Regions from separate parts of the Homo sapiens genome. Here all the other regions are linked to region 2. The links are contacts of gene promoters, found by promoter capture Hi-C in blood cells and fetal thymus (Javierre and others, 2016). All regions are on one chromosome and are shown on one strand. Each heading gives the region's core, a stretch centred on a gene start or on the middle of the fragment in contact. The rest is flanking DNA. Distances are from core to core; before and after follow the strand shown.

Evidence for each region. Contacts are between HindIII fragments. The CHiCAGO score rates a contact against its expected background, and 5 or more counts as called.
Region 1: a fragment that was not itself captured here is called in contact with the fragment with the promoter of VCF1 in region 2 in 6 of 17 cell types (fetal thymus, non-activated CD4 T cells, total CD4 T cells and 3 more); the score reaches 10.2 in fetal thymus.
Region 3: a fragment that was not itself captured here is called in contact with the fragment with the promoter of VCF1 in region 2 in 3 of 17 cell types (M2 macrophages, M1 macrophages and fetal thymus); the score reaches 6.1 in M2 macrophages.
Region 4: a contact is called between a fragment that was not itself captured here and the fragment with the promoter of VCF1 in region 2, in 4 of 17 cell types (total B cells, activated CD4 T cells, endothelial precursors and 1 more). The highest score is 8.9, in total B cells.

What each region holds. Positions count from the first base shown.
Region 1 is chr17:72,707,387-72,710,243 of GRCh38, reverse strand. The region is part of intron 7 of SLC39A11 (solute carrier family 39 member 11); the gene reads left to right. Among named protein-coding and RNA genes, the nearest start is that of LINC00511, 68 kb to the right of the region's middle. The HindIII fragment of the contact is 4,413 bases long and covers 1-2,857 here.
Region 2 is chr17:73,231,144-73,233,931 of GRCh38, reverse strand. VCF1 (VCP nuclear cofactor family member 1) reads left to right here and starts at 1,538. Exons shown (of 4, transcript NM_001098832.2): 1 at 1,538-1,846. The coding sequence starts at 1,626. It overlaps MTNAP1 (mitochondrial nucleoid associated protein 1), which reads right to left and starts at 1,499. Exons shown (of 6, transcript NM_001351264.2): 1 at 1,443-1,499; 2 at 607-712. RefSeq lists an enhancer at 2,045-2,788. The HindIII fragment of the contact is 5,222 bases long and covers 1-2,151 here.
Region 3 is chr17:72,601,064-72,603,816 of GRCh38, reverse strand. LINC00511 (long intergenic non-protein coding RNA 511) reads left to right here. Exons shown (of 5, transcript NR_033876.1): 4 at 9-714. Among named protein-coding and RNA genes, the nearest start is that of LINC00673, 9.6 kb to the right of the region's middle. RefSeq lists an enhancer at 13-980. The HindIII fragment of the contact is 1,316 bases long and covers 762-2,077 here.
Region 4 is chr17:74,197,720-74,200,625 of GRCh38, reverse strand. No RefSeq gene overlaps it. Among named protein-coding and RNA genes, the nearest start is that of RPL38, 4.5 kb to the left of the region's middle. RefSeq lists a silencer at 667-716. The HindIII fragment of the contact is 1,277 bases long and covers 747-2,023 here.

The DNA of each region.
Region 1 (2,857 bases), core at 260-2,759, 520 kb after region 2:
TGAGAACCACAGGGGAACTGAAATCATGGTGCCAGAGTAGAAAGTCACTGGCAGGAGATAAGAACAGCACTGGCATTGTAGAAAAGCATGCTGGCTGTATGAAAGAAAAATGATATATTCTCCCTGTAAGCAAAGGACGAAGAGGGAAATTAAGAGAGACAGGGGAAGCAATAGGTGTGGTTGGCAGAACAGATGACCCAGAGACTTCTGCATGTTCCTCAAAGAGCAACCAGATCAATTTGAACAGGAGCAACAATCAAAATTATAATTGAAAATAAAACCTCTGGAACCTGAGGGGAAAATAATCTGAGGATGCAGCTCAAAAGAAATCAACCACATTTTAGTTGAATTTAATGAAAAGAAAATTGCAATGTGACATATCCTGGGAAAACTTTTGAGTTGCAGATACATAAAATATCACAAAACCATCCAGATAGGAAAAGCAGGTTACTTATAAAAGAGTTAAGTTCAGGTTGATCAGCAATTAGAAGTGAAAAGGGACATTCACTGAAAGGATACAGGAAATAGGGGCAAGAAAATCTTCAGCTTCATGAACTGAAATTGAACCTGGAAAGTTCTCTCTCTCTCCCTGTCTCTCTCATACACTTACGTGCACACACACAAACTTCCTTCATCATTTCTTTGCCCAACAGCCATTGTCCATTGAATACCTTTTTCTTTATCAAGTTTTAATTAAGTGAGAAGGAAGATATTTGGCTCAGCTCATCTCTGTTCAAGGAGAAACCCTCAAGCAATAGGTGAAAGAGCAGCCTATACATCAGATCTCTTGAGGCAGGTGTCCACACCTGGGCCAATTGGTGAGCACACCTATCAAGAAAGAGCTCAAGCCAGGCATGGGGACATGCACTTGTATTCCCAGCACTTTGGGAGGCTGAGGTGGGAGGATCACTGGAGCCTGAGCAACATAATGAGACCCTGTCTCCACAATAAAAAAGCACTCAGCTATTTCCTCATCAGGCAAGTGAGTTTAAAAAGAAAAAGGCTTGGCCGGGCGCGGTGGCTCACGCCTGTAATCCCAGCACTTTGGGAGGCCGAGGTAGATGGATCACGAGGTCAGAAGATTGAGACGATCCTGGCTAAGATGGTGAAACCCTGTCTCTACTAAAAAATACAACAAAAATTAGCTGGGTGTGGTGGCAGGCGCCTGTAGTCCCAGCTGCTCAGGAGGCTGAGGCAGGAGAATGGCATGAACCTGGGAGGCAGAGCTTGTAGTGAGCCGAGATCGCGTCACTGCACTCCAGCCTGGGCAACAGCGCGAGACTCCGTCTCAAAAAAAAAAAAAGAAAAGAAAAAAGGCTTTGCCTAGGTTTCTCAGAAAACAGAGCCAAAGGCAAAGTTCATGCGTTATGAGTTGTGAGCAGTGTGCTGCCGCAGAAGCAAAAGTGAAAAGGAAGTGAACAACACAGGAAGGCAAGAAAGCAAATCCAAGGCTTATCATTGAGCTAGCTACAGCTTCTCAAAACAAGTCAATCTTGATGCTCAGTCATGGGTTGGGAAGAATATCTTCAAGGAGACTGAATGGAACTGCTGAGTGAACTCTCCTTGGAAAGGGCAGAGAGATTGTAGAAGAATGGAGAAGCAATGCTGTGGCCATGGGTCTTCCTGAACTTGGGGGTCCCTGAGACCATCCCCGATATTAGGAGATGAGGTAACAGGCTGTAGGCAAGAATGACATGATGTACCAGTCAAGGTTCTCTGGAGAGACAGAACCAATAGGATGTGTATATATAGAAAGAGATTTGTTACGAAGAATTTGCTCATGTGATTATGGGAGCCAGCAAGTCCAAATTCACACAGTGGGCTGGCAGATTCAAGACCCAGGAGAGTTGATGGTGTGGTTCTAGTTCAAAGGCAGTCTGCTGGAGAGTATTTTTCCTTTTCCTACTTGGTGGTGGATCAGTCTTTTTGTTCTATTCAAGCCTTCAACTTACTTGGATGAGGCCCACTTAGATTCAGGAGGGCAGTCTGGCCTACTGTACCAATTAAAATGCTTATCTCATCCAAAAGCCCTCACAAAAACACCCAGAATGTGTGACCAAATATCTGGGCACCTCCTGGCCCAGTCAAGTTGACACATAAAATTAACCATCACACATGAGAATTGCTGGGGCTGCTCAAGCAGGATACAGGGCAAGTGGCCAATGTCCAGAGTCCAGGAGAACCTCGGAACTGGAGTGGAGCAGTCTGGTTCTGTACAATGGACTTGGCAAGCAGATTGACTACCATGTCTGGTACAAAATTATTATAGTGTAGTTATTGTTCTGCAGAAATTAGAATTGATTATGTGTTTATCTTTAAATTCTATTGACTTGCCTCTTACTGATAAAACCCTTATCGTTTAAACTGGTTGTCCTTTGAGGATATTTTTGCCATGCTTGAGAAGAATGGATAAAAAGAGGCTTCAAGGCTGAACTTTGGCTTTTGCTTGGCAATTATTATTCCATGCCGTACGCTTTGCCTTCCTAACCGTTTTCTCTTTGGTGGAAACAAGATGAACCCTGACTTAATATAACAGAACAAGGATGTGTACCCATGTGGATGTAGGGGTGCCAGAGGGAATGATCGGGACTTTGTGCAACTCGTAAATGTGGAGATGATGATGTGTTCATAGTTGCTTGATGACACAGGAGTTCTTCAATATTTCTCCTCCTTAAGTGATCTTTATTTGCTTTCCTGTCTGCCCTGCAGTACCACCAGTGTCTCCCTGCCTATACATGTATACATATTCTCACTTGGGACAGGTCCACATTGTGTCAGTTGTAATCAATATAGCAAAACTTATTTTCTTTGTTGTTTTTGAGACATCTGTCATTCGGGGTCTCTTTCTGTCTTGCTC
Region 2 (2,788 bases), core at 289-2,788:
TCTGCCAACAGATTACAGTAATCATTTTTACTTTGTTGTTGTTTGGTCTTTTTTTTTTTGAGATGGAGTCTTGCTCTATCACTCAGGCTGGAGTGCAGTGGCGCGATCTCGGCTCACAGCAACCTCAGCCTCCCAGGTTCAAACGGTTCTCCTGCCTCAGCCTCCCGCGTGGCTGGGATTACTGGGATTAAGGGCGTGCGCCACCACGCCCAGCTAATTTTAGTATTTTTAGTAGAGACGGGGTTTCACCATGTTGGCCAGGCTGGTCTTGAACTCCTGACCTCAGGTGATCCACCCGCCTCGGCCTCCCAAAGTGCTGGGACTACAGGCGTGAGCCACCGCGCCCAGCCTGCTGGGATTACAGGCGTGAGCCATCATTCTTTCTTTCTTTGGAGGTACACACTAACAGGATGAAAGCCACAGACTGTTTGTTTACAATAATACACACAAATGAAGCCAGTCCATGGACCTTCGGCTAACAACGTTAGGAAGGGCTTGACACCTGCTAGACGTTTCTGCCTCCACTCCACCTCACACTCAACCCTACTTGAAAGATCCCGGTACATTCCCACGATAACGTCTATACGTGGGTGTCTGTTTTCTTACCCGAGCTCCTCCAGGAGGATGCTAGTTTTGTGGGTGCTTCTCCCGGATCCCCATGCTTCCCCGATCACCGTTCCCGAGTGTGGCAGAATGAAACGTGAATGTCAGCCTGTGTAGGACACGATCAGACAGGTGACTTGGCAGCATGCACAGTGAGTAAACGCGGCACGATACTGAACCAAATAGAAACACAGGTTCCGGAAAGCAGAGAGTTAAGACCTCCCCAGCCTCCGGGCTCAAGGAGGACCTCAATAGTTCCACTAATCCTCACCCTCACCTCCGGCGCTCTCCAGCCGCCTTTCCCTCCTCCCGCTGCGTTACCAGCCTGCCCACCTCCCCGCACCCTTCCTTTCCCTGAAAGCTGTTCTGATTCTGCCAGCTGTTCTGATTCTGCGGAGTGGATGGGGTCGGCCCGGCAGCTCCTGGGTCAGGGACAGCCGTTCCCGCAGCCCCACCGAGGATTTCCTCCTGCGGTTCCAGGAAGACCCTCCGCCGGCCCCGGCACCCGATTCCCTACCCTCTCCGCTCAGGAGAGTCTCCCCCAGACTTAGAACGTGGGCCGCGGAAAACAAACCCGCCCTTGCAAGCTCCCCACAGAGCACCGTCCTCACCTCGGAAGACCTGAAAGCCCAGGCGGCCCCGGCGACAAGCCCCCCAGGGAAGCCCCCCAGGCCCCTGCCCAACCCCCGGCCAAGGAACCTCGTCAGGCCGTCTGCACCACTGCCGGATAGGTCCGCCTGTTTTAAAATATGTTACACGGATTCAACTCAAATACTTGTATGATATTATTATGACATAATTGAATTTATTTGAAACCTGGCTTGACTTTTATACCGTACCCTCCGTTGGCTGTGAACAGGCGAGCGCTTCTGCCACCCCAGGGGAGGTCCTTTCTCCCAGAAGCTCCTAGTCGCTCCTCCCGCTCCGAGCCCGCCTCTTCCCGTGGGCGGGGTTACCAGTCGGTGCGGTTGGGATGGTGCCACTGCGCAGCCGCGAGAGGGCGGTACCACGGCGGCAGCGACATGGGGGGGCGCGGAGCAGACGCCGGAAGTAGTGGTGGTACGGGTCCGACTGAGGGGTACTCGCCACCGGCTGCGTCCACCCGAGCGGCTGCGAGAGCCAAGGCCCGAGGGGGTGGGCGTGGCGGCCGCCGAAACACAACCCCCTCTGTTCCCTCTCTTCGCGGAGCGGCGCCGCGTAGCTTCCATCCGCCAGCTGCCATGAGCGAGCGCCTCCGTCCCAGGTGAGAGGGAAGGGACCCCCTTTCCATTCGTCGCCTGAGGATCTGGGAGATAGAGCCGAGGGGGCGCGCGAAATGGGGGTCGGAGCAAGAGTGGACCCGGCGGGGCTCCCTGTGGGGTGCACTGCGGGCCGGGGGAGGAGGGGAGAGGGATGCGCGAGTGATCGGATGCTTGGTTCCTGTGGGTAGCTGGAAGGTGACTCTCCGGGGTCCAGGTCTCCCGCCCCTCCATCTTTTTTCCCCCCTGTCTTTTCCTATTTGGAACGAAGTGTGATCGGTCCCGGAAGAGAGACGGTGGCCCTAAAGCTTTCCTGTCCTAAATTTAGGAGGGTGGGGGGATGGGATAAACGTCTCATCTTGGAGAGGGAGCCCCCAAAGGCTTTTGTGAGGGCACCGGGCGGGGAGCTGCCGGCTCCCCAAGGTCAGAAAGAAAGGTTGGGCTTAACCCCGCAGCAGGGAAAGATTCGGTTAGACCGAAGAACTTGTGCCCTGAACGGTTGTGAACACAGAAGGGCAGATGACCAAGGCGGGTTATGGATCTTCTCTTGACTGTGGCATTAAGAACAAGCTGGATTCTAAACTGTTTGGATTGCGGGGCCGTTTGACTCCGAAGGCGGGAGGAAAGATTTTATCGCGATGCACTCGCTACCTTCCCGAGGGAGCCTGGCCTCGGGACGCGGGTCTTAAATTAGGGGTTCTGTGCTTGACATGTACTACTAGAGTCCGGACTAAGTTGGGATTTCTTAATTTTTTTCTCTCTCTTAATTTCCTCTGCAAGAATGTGTGGAGGAGAAAGTTGGGAAAGGTTACCTCAGAATGCTCTTCCTGTTACGGTCTTTCCACAAGGATCCTTCTCTGAAATAATTATTTCATGTGATTGAAGTTCTCAAAAGTATTCTGAGTTTATTTGGTCCCATAGTGAAAACCTAGGGTTCCCCAAGCTGC
Region 3 (2,753 bases), core at 170-2,669, 630 kb after region 2:
TTCTACAGAGCCCATGGAACAGACTTACGGCGTATGACCTCATCGGAGACTTGTACATGGGGCCAACCCCCATTTTCCCACAGGAAACCCACACTCTAATTAAGGGCTGACCCTGAACTTGAATCTGAGTCTTCTCTTTCTTCAACAGAGAGCCATCTCTCCAGCCCAGCTGGCAAGGAGACAGGTGATGTTACAGGAAAAAATACACAGCTTGTGCCCTTGGAATTACCAGAGTTCAAAGCCTGTTCAGCATCTACCCACCATGTGACCCGGGTCGAATTCTTCAGTTTCTCTAAGCCCATTTTCTCATCTGTAAGATGGGGAAGTGTAATCAGTTCTGAACCCACATATACCTCACTGGGCTTGAACAGGCCTGAGCAGGCATGTGGGGCTTTACTAGCTAGCCATCCTTTCTGCCGCTCTCCCTCATTCTCCTTCAAGCCCCCCAAAGTCCTTGGTGGAGGAGGAAGTGGAGACAGAACGTTTGGTGTTGGGTGAGGTACGTGAGGAGGCTGATTTCAGAACCTCCAGGAAACAAAGCTTTAGTGTTCCGAGGGCAGTGCCCGCCTGTGCCTCCTCCTCACAGGGGGTAGTAGGAGTGGGGTGGGGCCGAGGCATTTCCCAGCACAGCTCAATCACATCTCCTGCGCCTGCCCTTGTGACCTGCTCACTGGAAAGGAAGAAATGACCGAGGGAGAAGGGAGGGCATTTGAGGTGAGTGCCTGAACTGATGTCTTGGAGAATATTTGCATGACAAAGCTTCTTGCAAAATCTGGGTAGGACTTCCAGTTAACCCCCTGGAGGAGGCTTGGGGAAGTTGTGCTCTGAACCCACACACACCAGGTCGCCTTTCTGTGTTGCCCTATTTGGTTTCGCTAGTTCTGCCACAGGGAGAAGGTGTGTTCTGGATGGGTCCCCTCCCTCTGTCACCTGGTGCTGGCACTTCTGGGTGTCTGGGTCTTTCTGAAGCCATTTCATTCACGTTTCCCCTGGATGTGAGACTGTGTTGTGTTTGTTCTGACTGTCCTCTTGTAGAAGAGACGGTAGCTTTGCTTTTCTCTCCATCATACCCCTGGAATGCACTTCTTTGCCACACTCCAGCCTTTGACTCAGTCACCTCCACATCACCCTTTCACCAAACTTCTCTGTCTGCTTTTAAAGCCAAAGTCAACTTGACTAGACCCTTTGCTGACACTGCCATTTGCTGAACTAGCTTTGAATTCCAGTTATTCCAAGGCACAAACTGTGGATTTTCCTTTTCTTTTTTTCTTTTTTTGATACAGGGTCTATCTTTGTCATCCAGGCTGGAGTGCAGTGGCACAATCACGGCTCACTGCAGCCTTGACCTCCTGGGCCCAAGCAATCCTCCCACCTCAGCCTCCCAAGTAGCTGGGACTACAGGCACATGCCACCATGCCCAGCTAATTTTTATATTTTTTTGGTAGACACGGGGTTTCGCCATGTTACCCAGCTTGGCCTCAAATGCCTGGGCTCAAGCGATCTGCCCACCTTCGCCTCCCAAAGTGCTGGGATTACAGGCGTGAGCCACCACGTCTGGCCAGATTTTCCTTTAACATCACCTGCCTCTCCGTCACTTATATGGGTGTGATGGATGTGTATGTACCAGTGTCGGATGATCTAGTTTTGATCAGTTTCATAAGTTACCCCTTCTTCAAGAAGCCTCTTTTCCCTCTAATATAGCATAGGTTTATGTCTTCCCTTGTTCTTACCACACTCCGCAATAATTTAATTTAGTTGTTTACTTATTTATTCCATCTCCCCACAAAAAAGAGACTTTGACTCTCACCTTTGATATTATATCCCCAGTGCCTAGCACAGTACCTGGAGCTTACCAGATGCTAAATAGATGTTTGTTGAACAAATGAATGAATGGTCACCACTGTTCAATCTAGAGACAGAAAGCTACCAATTCACATTCTTCATAGCACCTCTAGGACAGACACTATCCTTTTTATATCACAGACCATCAAGAGTATTGACTGGTAGAATGATGTTGGCACGTAGGTGCAGGCTAATTAATTCCACCGGCTTGGGCGGCTTGCTGTAATACCAAGCTTTTGGTTAGGACTTTGTGGGTGAGCCGTCTGGAAATTGATTCAGCACAGTTTGGGGAAGGAATCCGTTTGTCCACATTCAAGAGCACTATTTACCTGCATTTGCTTTGTTGGCAATTTAACATTATCAGTCAAATTAAACCAGCCAATGTTGACTGAGCCCCTGTTAAAAGGATTAAAAACAAAAAAAAAAGCAAGCAAGAAAGCATATGTGATATACTCCTTGATCCCAGAACACTTAAAATTAATGGGAGGAGCCAGAAATGTACACATCTTAACAACCACTGGTGAAAGACAGTATATCTCAATGTCAGATGAATGGAGTACATGATAATGTAAGGGAAGTTCTGAGAAGACAGCCATCGCGGGGGTGGGTTGGGAAGGAAGGTCATCCCAGGAGTCTGAAGTACCTGCCTGGCACAAGGCAGGGCACACAAGAGGCACTCTGCAAGGACAAGCCCAGCAAAGTCCGAAAAGCATTTCTGGCAGATGGGATGGTGTGAGCAACGGTGGTGGTGGTGGGGTCATCACAGTGTGAGGTTGTAGGACCTGCACCAGGCTGGGAAGAATGGAATAATGGAAATATTAGACATTTGAAAGCCATGAGTCACAAACACTCAGAAGGGTGAAGGGGATGGAGCAAAAGAATACAGAATGTGTCTAAGCTTGGAACCCTGA
Region 4 (2,906 bases), core at 136-2,635, 970 kb before region 2:
TTCAGGGACACATTGGAAAGAGGACCAGGATGGGTCAAAAAAACCCCAATGCCCCAGCTCGCAGGTGGGCAGAGGGCTGGCACGGCACATGGCTGGGAAGACTTCCCAACCTCCAGGATTTTCCCCCATTCAATCCATTCCGTTCACTTGGTGAACATCGGGCTGGGCTTGGGAATAAGCAGAATGCGGTTCCTGCTCCAAACACTCATGACTGTTGGGATCCCATAATAAGCTGTGGAGGATGCCCAGAGGCTAGGGGTCTAATTCCTCCTGAGGGAGTCCTGGAAGGCTTCGTGGAGGAGGGGACACAGTCTGCTGCCTCCGAGAGGGGTGCGCAGCAGCTTGCCCGGAGAAGGACTTCCAGACAGAAGGAGGGAGGGAGCTGACGTCAGCCCAGGGTCAGGAGAATGCGGGGTGTTTCTGAGAATGAGTGGGAAGTTCAGTGTGGCAGAGGTAAGGAGGGTCTGGGGCAGGGGGTCGGGGAGAAGAGGCTGGAGGGGGAGTTGGGCTGGAGTTCAGGGCCTTCAGGAGTTCCCCTTCCAGCCTCACTTATGCCCGCTGTGGTCATCGTCACCCAAGGGCCCATCCCTGGGGTCCATAGCACCTCCTTCACTGCCCAGCGGTGATCTTCCGAGCCTTAGTTTCCTGGTTTCTGTGTGTGTGTGCGTGCACGTGTGTGTATGTTTTGGGGGTGGGAGTGTGTGTGCTGTCGCCTCTCTCCCGCCTCGCAGGGTTGCAGCGAAGCTTCTATGGGGTGATTCGCAAAGCTCCAACCCGCACCTCTCAGGCAAGGCCCGCCCTGGGTGCTGTGTCCACTGGCGGCCGCACGGGGGCGCTGAGGCCGCGGCTGGAAACGGAATAGCCCCTTCCGCGCGACTCCTGGGAGCTCAGGCGGAGAGAAATGTCCATAAATTATCGGGAATATTTGTATGCGATTTCATACCTGGTGGAGTGCTTTCATATCCACCATCTCATTTAATCTCCAAGAGGCCCCTGCCTTTGGCTGCCGGCAGGGCTGGCCTTTAAACCATCTCGGAAGGGAGTTGTTTATTAAACCTTAAAGGTTGTCAGCAGGCCGGGACTCTGGTCCCTGGCACTGAACTCATTTACCTGGGAAAGGATGGGGAGTCGGGTGGCGGGGTGAGTTGGTGCTTTATTTATTTATTTTTTTGAGACAGAGCCTTGCTCTCTTGCCTAGGCTGGAGTGCAGAGGTGCAATCGCTGCTCGCTGCAGCCTCGACCTCTCGGGCTCAAGTGGTCCTCCTGCCTCAGCCTCCCAAGTAGCTGGGACCACAAGCATGTGGTCTTATATTCTTTCTTTCTTCCTTTCTTCCTTTCTTTCCTTCTTTCTTTCTTTCTTTCTCTCTCTCTCTCTTTCTTTCTTTCCTCTTTTTTTTAGAAATGGGGTCCCCTGTGTTGCCCAGGCTGGACTCTAACTCCTGGCCTCAAACGATCCTCCTGCCTTGGCCTCCCAAAGTACTGGGATTACAGGCTTGCGCCACTGTACCCGGCCCACTGGTGTTTTTTTAGAAACTGAAGATGGTGAGTTTAAAGGGATACTGGTTACTCACTCTCCCCCTGGCCCCCAAAGAGTCTGTGAGCCCCTGAGAGGTAGACAGGTTTAACATTCTCCCTGCTGCTGAGCTAGAAGCCACGAAGAAAGGCCAGGCAGACTGGAACAGGGGTTCTCACGCCCCACATGGTTGACCTTTGTGGATGGGGTCACTTTCACTTTTTGTTTAGGGGCTGAGGCTCTTCTGAGCCTTGTGAGGATCCCAGGCCCCTACTTGGTTAATGCTAGACCCTCACAATTGTGAGAAACGAAAATGTCTCTAGACATTGCCAAATGTCCCCGGGGGAAAGCAGGGCAATGCCACTTGTGGTTGAGAGCCGCTTGACTAGAAGGCCAAAACCACGAGGACATTCTTTTTCATAATGGATATCTCTGTTCTGTGCCTATGGCCAGGTAACTCATGGGCTCAGGCTACTGTCTTATTTGCACCTAGCCTAGGGTTTCAAAGCTTTTCTGTGGATGCTGTAAGGAGGACAGCCCTGGGTGCTGCCTCTGCCCGGGCTCAACGGGTGGCAAGGCGGGGTGCAGTCGGCTCTAGTTACCAGGAGCCTCGTCCCTACTCTGGGAGGCAAGGCAGCTGATGTCAGCCCAGAGCGGGTGGGGACACCTTTTCCAGTGGGAAGCCTCGGGATGGGGTGGGGAGCTGGGGTGGGAGAAGGGAGGAGAGGCATGGGGCACGTCTTTAAGGTGCCTCTAGGTACCTAAGTGGTGAAGATGCACAAATAAGATCCTGTCCCTGTTCCCATCTCAAGGGACACACAGAATAGTAAGGGAGGCAGTGATGAGGTTGGGCCCTAGGTGTAGGAAGTGTTTGGAATTGTGGGACCAGATGGAGGCCATGGGGGTCTGATACAGGCTGGGGAAGGGGTGATACAGGCCAGGAAAGTCCTCCAGGAGTAACATCGATGGTGATTCACAAAGAGGAGTAGAATATTGCTTTGTCCTGAAAACCCAACACCTCCAGAGGAGCCTGCTAGTATGTGCAAACCCTCATAGCAAATAAGTTCCAGGGTGACAAGAATGAAAGAAGCATCAGATTGAGTGGTATCAATCTAGGTGGTCTTCCTGGAGGAGGCAGTATGATAGGGTGGGAGGAAAACTCTTCCTGGAGGCAGGAAGTCTTAGATTCAAATTCAGTGTCTGGCTGGGAGAATTTGAATGAGTCTCCTGAGAGCTCTGAGCCTCAGTTTCTGTTGAGTATTAATTCCTGCTAGGATCCAGGCCACTGCGGCCAGTTGTGTGCAGCCTGCACAACTGTCTGCAGCTGCCCTGCTTATGAGAAACCAGAAGGCACCAAGAATAGAAAAATGCTTAGCCCAGCAGCCGGCTCTGT